Regions from separate parts of the Homo sapiens genome. Here regions 2 and 3 are each linked to region 1. Evidence: promoter capture Hi-C in 16 types of primary human blood cells and fetal thymus (Javierre and others, 2016). All regions are on one chromosome and are shown on one strand. Each heading gives the region's core, a stretch centred on a gene start or on the middle of the fragment in contact. The rest is flanking DNA. Distances are from core to core; before and after follow the strand shown. Region 1 holds the start of SIAH1 (siah E3 ubiquitin protein ligase 1). Region 2 has its middle 94 kb from the start of N4BP1. Region 3 has its middle 74 kb from the start of N4BP1.

Evidence for each region. Contacts are between HindIII fragments. The CHiCAGO score rates a contact against its expected background, and 5 or more counts as called.
Region 2: a contact is called between a fragment that was not itself captured here and the fragment with the promoter of SIAH1 in region 1, in 3 of 17 cell types (M2 macrophages, M0 macrophages and neutrophils). The highest score is 6.5, in M2 macrophages.
Region 3: a fragment that was not itself captured here is called in contact with the fragment with the promoter of SIAH1 in region 1 in 10 of 17 cell types (M0 macrophages, M1 macrophages, M2 macrophages and 7 more); the score reaches 27.0 in M0 macrophages.

Annotation. Positions count from the first base shown.
Region 1 is chr16:48,383,940-48,386,784 of GRCh38, forward strand. SIAH1 (siah E3 ubiquitin protein ligase 1) reads right to left here and starts at 1,474. Exons shown (of 2, transcript NM_003031.4): 1 at 1,265-1,474. RefSeq lists silencers at 553-822, 913-982, 1,083-1,902. The HindIII fragment of the contact is 2,947 bases long and covers 1-2,060 here.
Region 2 is chr16:48,514,607-48,517,306 of GRCh38, forward strand. No RefSeq gene overlaps it. Among named protein-coding and RNA genes, the nearest start is that of N4BP1, 94 kb to the right of the region's middle. The HindIII fragment of the contact is 2,306 bases long and covers 218-2,523 here.
Region 3 is chr16:48,534,789-48,537,731 of GRCh38, forward strand. No RefSeq gene overlaps it. Among named protein-coding and RNA genes, the nearest start is that of N4BP1, 74 kb to the right of the region's middle. RefSeq lists enhancers at 1,547-1,916, 1,947-2,016, 2,777-2,846. The HindIII fragment of the contact is 2,069 bases long and covers 463-2,531 here.

The sequences.
Region 1 (2,845 bases), core at 224-2,723:
TGCCACTGCTTTCAGTCCACCTATTGTCATCTCATCAATTCTCAACAGGGCTTGAGGTAGATACTGTCGTTACACCCATTTTGCAGATAAGGAAAGCGAAGCACAGAGAAGTATCTGCCCAAGGTCACAAACCAGTGGAGCAGGATTTGACCCAAAGCAGACAGTCGGACTTCACAGCCCGTGCTCTCAACATCCAACTGCTGAAGAGTTAACAATTTACCCTTGACAGCCGCTATAAGCAAAGGTAAATGCTCAACTGCTAGGAAGGGACAGTCAGAACACCGTCCCATATCCAGTATCCATGTCTCTCTGTTTGTTTATGGCCTCTATGACTTTGGCAAAAGAAGTACACACAATCTGATTTTCCGAACACCCAAGCTGGACTTTTCTGAATGTCCGAGCAAACAAATTATGTATCTTTCCAGGAACGGGCAGACAGCGAAAACGAACCTACGCATCGGAGTGGCCCAGGTTATTCACTTTAAGTTATAAATTTGGGAGAGTTAAGAAAGGACCCCAAACTACCCGGCAAATGAACCCTAGGAAATGCCAGGTTTATAATAAGCTAGAGCTTCCCCGGCACGCCGTTCACGCGCTCTCCTCTCTAACGACATAAACAAGGGAGGAGGCTGCATTCTTCCCACTGCACAATGAAGCCTCCGGCCGAAGCGGCAGGAAGAGCGCAGCCCCGTCCCGGACGGCTCCAGCCGGGGGTCGGGGGCAGAGAGCGGAGGCCGAGGCCCGCCGAGCGGCGCGGTGCGGCCCGGGCCTCCGGGCGCCGCGGGGAGGAGGGGGAGGGAGGGCAGGGCCCCGGCAGCTGCCCGCACTCAGCTGACCTCCGCCATGTTGGCCGCACACCCCGGGACCCTCCACAACAAAGGCCGGCACGAGGGCGCGGGGCGCGCCGGGCGCCACCCCCGGCCGGGCCCGCCTCCCGGGCGCGCGGGGGCCGGGCCGCCGCCGAGGCCCTTCCCCCGCCCTCGGCCCGGCCGCGCGGGGCCGACCCCCGCCGCCACCCCGCCGGGCCCGGGGCTCCAGGGGCGGGGGCGAGCCGGCTTGCGAAGGCTGAAGGCAGGGGAGGGGCGGGGGGCGGCGCTCGACCGGGCGGCCCGACTCCGGCCGAGACAAAGGCGCCGCCGCGCCGACTACTGCCCGCGCCCCGGCCGGGCCGCCCTTCCCGCCCTCCGCCATTACCGGGCCTGGGCGCCCGCCTGTCGGAGAGCCCCTCGCCGCCGGCTCCTCCCTCAGGCCGGGCCCCACTTACCTGTGGGCGGAGAGCGCGCCTCGGACCCCGGTCCTGGCACCAACGCGCTCCGTCGCCAACCCCCGCCACCGCGGGCAGCGCCACCGCCTCTTCCCGGCGCCGAGACCGACGGGACACCCTGGGCCGCCGCCGCCTCTCGAGAGCGCGCCCCGCAACGGCCGCCCCGGCTCCCCCCTGGCCGCCGCCGCCGCCGCCGTTTCGCGCGTCCTCGAGCCCGCCGCGCGCCCCCGCTAAATACCACACACTGCGGCGGCGGCCATGAGGAGGCGCGGCCCCGCGCGCTGGGAGCCTGGGGGGGCGGGGCTTTCGCGGGCGCGCAGGCGCACAGGCGTTGGCGCGGCCGGCGGCGGCCTCCGCGGGCGTAGCTGTGCGGGTCTCCAAAGGCGGCAGTAGGTGCGGGGGCTACTCGGCTACCGTTGCTGCGCCCGTGCACCGCGCATTCAACGGATCCTGGCACGTGGCGCTCTGGCCCGCGAGAAGCTAGCGCTTGCCCGTCGGCTCAGGGCAGCTCCTCCCGCGGCGCTTTGTTCCGGGGCCGCGTGACCCCCCCGGCTCCGGCCGGAGGGGTCGCCCAGCGGGATGCGAGCCCCAGGCTGGCCGCCGCCGCGGCCTTGTGCCCTCCCCCTTGTTTTGTCTGCTGATTTAGCCCAGCGCCTCCACGGATCCTTCCCAACTCCACTCAGTCCCAAAGAAAAAGCGGCTGCCCTGCCCGCCGACCGGGACCCCACCCCTAAAGAGAGTCCCAGCCTCTCCCGAGGTTGAGCCGCTCCTCAGCAACAGCGGGACGAGCTTCAAAAGCTTGTTTCAGCTGAAAAGTGGGTAATGGGGAAGCACGCGTTTTCCTGTGTCCATGCTCATCTGGAAAGTCCCTAATTAGGGACTCTGCATTCCACTTCTTGAAATAATAAAAGGAAAACATCACTTGCAATTCTTTGATGGGTGCTATGAGCAGAAGCAAGCATCTGAGACATTTACAAGCCCTAACTGGAATTCCATGTAAGATCTATTAAAATGGTATTCCGTCCGGACGCGGTGGCTCACGCCTGTAATCCCAGCACTTAGGGAGGCCGAGGCCGATGGATTACCTGAGGTCAGGAGTTCGAGAGTAGCCTGGCCAACATGGTGAAACCCTATCTCTACTAAAAATACAAAAATTAGCCGGGCGTGGTGGTGCACGCCTGTAGTCCCAGCTACTCGGAGGCTGAGGCAGGAGAATCGCTTGAACCCGGGAGGCAGAGGTTGCAGTGAGGCAGAGATCAGGCCATTGCACTCCAGCCTGGACAACAGAGCGAGACTCTGTCTCAAAAAAATAAAAATAAAAATAGAAAAATCCCATACCGGGCACGTATGTACAAATTCCCAGTGTATGATAAAGTTTATATGTGCAAAACACTAGTTTACAGTATTCCTAATTACATGATTTAAACTGCAATTTTACTTTCACATTTTTGGGGAGAAGTTATAGCTCCTCAGTACACGGGAAGGTCAATAGAGTTCGGTTCACTTCAGTTTAGAGGTAAATTTTCCATTTTTACAGACTATGTGCTTGGCATAGCCATGTGGCCTTGACCTGGTCGTGAA
Region 2 (2,700 bases), core at 121-2,620, 130 kb after region 1:
CCAGCCTGGGTAACAGAGTGAGACACCCTGTCTCAAATAAATAAATGAGTAAATAAATATATAAATAAATAGAGGGAATTTGTTGCCAAAAGGTTTGTCTTGCAAAAAATGTTAAAATAAGTTCTTCAGAGAGAATGAAAATAGTATAGGTCAGAAACACAGATCTACATAAAGAAAGAAAGAGCATCAGGAAATGAATAAGTAGAGGCAAAATAAAAGCTTTTATGTTTTTAATCCATCTATCACATAACAGTTTGCTCAAAAGAGGAACAATGTATTCAATTATGTATGCTGGCGGGGTGCGGTGACTCACACCTGTAATCTCAGCACTTTGGGAGGCTGAGGCTGGCAGATCACCTGAGGTGAGGAGGTTGAGACCATCCTGGCCAACTTGGTGAAACTCCGTCTCTACTAAAAACACAAAAGTTAGCCAGGAAGCGTGGTGGCAGGCGCTTGTAATCCCAGCTACTTGGGAGGCTGCTTGAATCGATTGAACCAGGAGGTGGACGTTGCAGTGAGCCAAGATGGCACCACTGCACTCCAGCCTGGGTGACAGAGTGAGATTCCGTATCAAAAAACAAAAAAAATTATATATGCTTAAACATACATGCTTATGGATGCTTATGTATAGATGAAATGAATGATAACAATGAAACAAGGAACAGGAGAGAGAAATTAGAAATATTTTGTTATTATAAGGCACTTGCACTACCCTTTAAAAGGTGTAGTGTTATTTGAAATCAGGTTTGATTTAGTTTCAAAAGTATATTGATTTGTGTGTGTTTGTTTATAAAGAAAAATTTTTAAAAATGTATATTGCAAGTTTTAAGGCAACCAAGTTTTGAAGTAGAAGTAATATACTAAGCAAGGAGAGAAAATGGTATCCTACAAAATGCCTAATTAAAACCACAAAAGGCAGAGACAGAGTAAAAGACAAAAATAGGAACAAAGAATAAGGGCAGCACATTTTAAAATATGGTGGATAATAATCCAATTACATCAACAATTACTTTGAAAGCCAGTGCTCTAAATGTACCAATTAAGGACAGAGATTGTCACAGTATATCAAAAAATAAGATTCAACTGTAAGTTGTCTACAAAAAACCCACTTTAAATATAAAAACACATATACTTTAAAAGTAAAGAGATAAAGAAAGATATTCCATGCCAATGCACATCATAAGAAAGCAGTAGTTCTATTAATTTCAGACAGAGCTGACTTCAGCAAGGAAAGTGATCAGGAATAAAGAAGGCATTACAGAATGAGGGAGGGCTCAGTTCTCCAAGGCAACAATACTTAATATGTACACGCCTAACAACAGAGCATCGGTGCCTGAGAGGCAAAAACTGACAGACCTTCGAGAAGAAATAACGAACCCACTTTTAAAGTTGGAGATTTTGGCTGGGTGCAGTGGCTCACACCTGTAATCCCAGCACTTTGAGAGGCTGAGGAGGGCAGTTCACCTGAGGTCAGGAGTTTGAGACCAGCCTGGCCAACATGGTGAAACCCTGTCTCTACTAAAAGTACAAAAATTAGCTGGGTGTTGTTGTACGCGCCTGTAATCCCAGCTACTCAGGAGGCTGAGGCAGGAGAATCACTTGAACCCGGGACGCAGAGGTTGCAGTGAGCCAAGATCGCACCACTGCACTCCAGCCTGGGTGACAGAGCAAGACTCCGTCTAAATAAATAAATAAATAAATAAATAAATAAGTTGGAGATTTTAACACCCCTTTAACAGAAATGGACAGATCCAGCAGGCAGAACTCAATAGTACCATTAACAGCTGGTATATTGATCTATAAATGGCCTCACCCAGTGACAGCAGATTACACATTCTTCTGAAGCTCATATGGAATATTCACCAAGACAGACCACATTCAGGGCCATAAAAAACACCTTAAGGCCAGGTGTGATGGCTCACACCTGTAATCCCAGCACTTTGGGAGGCTGAGGCAGGCAGATCACCAGGTCAGGAATTTGAGACCAGCTTGGCCAACATAATGAAACCCTGTCTCTCCTAAAAATGCAAAAATTAGCCATGCATGGTGGCACGCACCTGTAGTCCCAGCTACTTCGGAGGGTGAGGCAGGAGAATCGCTTGAACCCGGGAGGCAGAGGTTGTGGTGAGCCGAGATTGCACCACTGCACTCCAGCCTGGGCGACAGAGCAAGACTCCGTCTCAAAAAAAATAAATAAATAAAAACAAAAAAAATCTTAATACATTTAAAAGAATAGAAACCATCCAATGTCTGGCCTCAGACCACAGTGGAATTAAACTAGAAATCAGTAAGAGAAAGATAGCTAGAAAATTCCCAAATACTTGGGGATTAAACAACACACTTCTGCATAACACAAAGGTCAAAAAAGAACTCTCAAGAAAAATTTAAAAATATTTTGAACTAAGTGAAAATGAGAACACAACTAATCAAAATTGTGTGATGTAGCGAAAGTAGTGTTTAGAGAGAAATTGATAATATTGAATGTATGTATCAAAAAAATAGAGATCTAAAATCAACAATTTAAGCTTCCCCTTTAGGAAACTAGAAAAAAAAATTAATTTACACAAAGCAATTTTACACAATTATTTGTGTAATTAATTTACACAAATTTGTGTAATTTGTGTAATTAATTTACACAAATTAAATTTACACAAAACAGAAGAAAAGAAATAATAAAAACCAAAGTAAAACTCAATGAAA
Region 3 (2,943 bases), core at 247-2,746, 150 kb after region 1:
CCAGAGTTCTCGGAGGGAGGGACCAGGTGACTGGCAGTCCCGCTCCACCGTCCCCACCTCTACGGGTGTGAGATGCTCTGGGTGGTCCTCAAAGCCAGAGTTCCTGGGCTGGGGAGGTGGGGGTTTATTAAAGCTGGGAGTGTCAGACAACTAGAAAAGGCTCACAGGGAAAAGAAACTCATCTTCAGGGGAGGCAGTGGAAAGAACAAATGTGGGAATAAGACCTGGACTCAGTCCTGCCTTACCGAACAGCTGATGGCCATGGGCAACCCAAGCTAGCTGGGCCTCTGTCCACACTGCAACTGTGAAACGAGGGCTCTCCACTGGGTGGCCTCCTCCTTCCCTTCTCAGCGGTGTGGCTGGCCCTGCTGGGCTCTCAGGTCCCTGGTGCCTGTGGGATGGTGACCAGGGTTTGCAGGGAGTGCACAGTGGGGAGGATGAAGGCGCTGCTTTGTGGAAAGAAGCTTGCAAGCTCAATGGGTACCAGCTGCTCTCCTCCCTCTTGTGCAGAAATTGTCCCCACATGTAATTAAGCCAGCTTCTGTCAGGAGGTGAGGACACACAGTGGGGCCAGGTCGGGAGAAACACCTGATGCCAATGCCAGCCCCACTGGTACTCAGGAACCAGGAGGGAGCCGGAGGGGTCCTGGCCTCCCCTGCTCCGTGCCCCACTCTGTGTCCTGCCTCTGTAGGGCCTGGGATTTGAAAACCACCAAAGGTCAGATGAGGCCCTGAGGGACCCTCGCTGGAGCCACATGTATTCTAGGGAACACTCACCGGCCTGGGTGCAAAGGTGCCTTCCTCACCGTGGGACTCAGGATGGGAAGGACTCTCCCAGGAGCCAGGCCCGTTTCTTAGGATTCAGTCCTGGTTGCAACCATTGCAACTACTCTTTAGTAGGGAGGTGTTTCTCAACCATGAGGGCACGCCGGGTCACTTGGGATTACCAGAAAACGTGGATGTCAGATTCTGATCTCTAGGGTCTGGGGTGTGGCCTGGGCAGCGCTGCCCCTGGGGATCCCAGTGCACAGCCAGGGTCACAGACCACCAGCTCTGAGGGCAGCAGCACTAGCCCTTGACAGATGAGGGCCCGAGGCCTTGAGAGGCTGCGTAACTTTCTCAAGGTCACGGAGAATAAGTGCAGGAGCAGGTGATGCCCTCACTCCACGGGCTGGCTGGGCATGAGGCCTTCAGAAGAAGGGCCATTCTGGTTGTTCTCTCCCTTCCCTGGCACTGTCCCCTGCATGAAGTGGCTGCTCAAGACCAGGGATGGAGGAACCCTGGAGGGGCTGGGAAGGTGCAGCATCCGGAGGGGATGAGGGGTTTGGGCCCCACCCCTCACCGGCTGGGCCTCATGTCCCTTAGCCACACAGTGGGAAGAAGTAAGGGTTCCCAGCCCTTCTCAGAGTGGAGGTGTGACATGCCAGGGATCCTGAGGGGCTGGCAAGGGGAGAGGGTCCTGCTGGCATTGAGAGACACCCTGGTTTGGGGGAAGTCCCCTGAGCAAGCCCACGTGCGCAGCTGCTAGGGGCAGGCTGCGGGAGGCCCTCTTCTTCCTGCTGCCTGTTTTGGTGGCTGAAACTTTAGACTGATCCAGGAGCCAGACAGGCGGGCAGACAAGCGCATTCTTTTTGGGGGAGGCCGCCGCCTCCTCTTCTCGCTAGAAGCAGGGAGGAGGGGAGGACAGGGCCTGCCCAGGCCTGACCCCAGACTGGGTTTCAGGCTGTGGGGCCAAGCAGGGCTCCCTGGGGACTCGGGGCTGGGGAAGGAAAGCCCCAAAGGCTGGAGTCTGCGGTTTGGAGTCCTGTGACTCTGGGAGCTGAAGCCACCAGGCAGGAGGGGGTGAAAGGGGGCTGGTTTAAGAAGCCCTAAGCCTCTGGGCTTTTGGCTCCAGCACTGGCTGTGGGTACTTCTGCTCTGTTTCTGGGCAAATCCCTGCCTGCCCAGTCCATTTCCCCAGTGAATGCCCCCAGCCCTGGCATCCTCGGTGTGTAGGGGATTGGAACCTGAGCCGGGAAAAAGGCCACGTACAGTTTCCAATCAACATCAACTCATCTGTGTTTCCCGAAATGAAGTGCAAGGTGGCTCTGATGCATACATGGGCTCACTCCTGACACAGCTTCTGCAGAACTGGTCAACTTCTTTAAAAAAATATGCTCTTGGCATCCTCTCGCAGGAACAGGGCTGGATACGGGCCCACCAAGCAGGAAGTGGGGAGGCAGCTTCCTTCCGCAGCCTCCCTGTGCCCTGAAGACTGACAGCCTTGACCCAGGTCTGTCATGGGCCCTCAATTCTTTTCCTTGAAGGGTGGAGGTATCTTAGGTGCCATACCAGCTGCTGAGTCACCTCTGGTGCAGCTTTGCCTTTCAGGGAGGTGGGATGGCCCATTGGAATTCAAATCCTAAATCCTGGACATCTTAGCTTGAAGAAATGGAAGTTCCTGAGCATCTCTGTACCTCAGTTTCCTCCTCTGCAAAATGGAGATAATAACAGCAGCACTTTAGGAGTGAGGTGAGGATTAAAGGAGACAGAAGCTTGCCGGGCACATGGGTGGTGAGGGCACGACACTGGTTGCCGGCCTCAGCTTTCTCAGCACCCTGCAGGCAGGCAGTGGCTGTGCTCACTTCCTCCGGGTGCTCTCTCTGGTGACGGCACCCGAGGGACTCTCCCAAGTGCCTGCCTTGTTCAAGGAACAATGCCCTCTCTAGAACAGCTGGACTTCCCATGGCCCTGCTGAGGCACTGAAAGAAATGTAGGCCCTAACCTAAGCACCCTCATCATTGGACCACAGGGATAAAGGAGTGCGTTCAGAACCTGGAGGATGACGGCTTAGCACTTGGAGATAAGACCTGGCTGGTGGGGGTGTGGGATGACCTGGAAGGGTGGCGAATAGTTAGGTAGGTGTCCGCAGGGCTGCTGATCAGAGCCCCAGTAGCAGTCACTG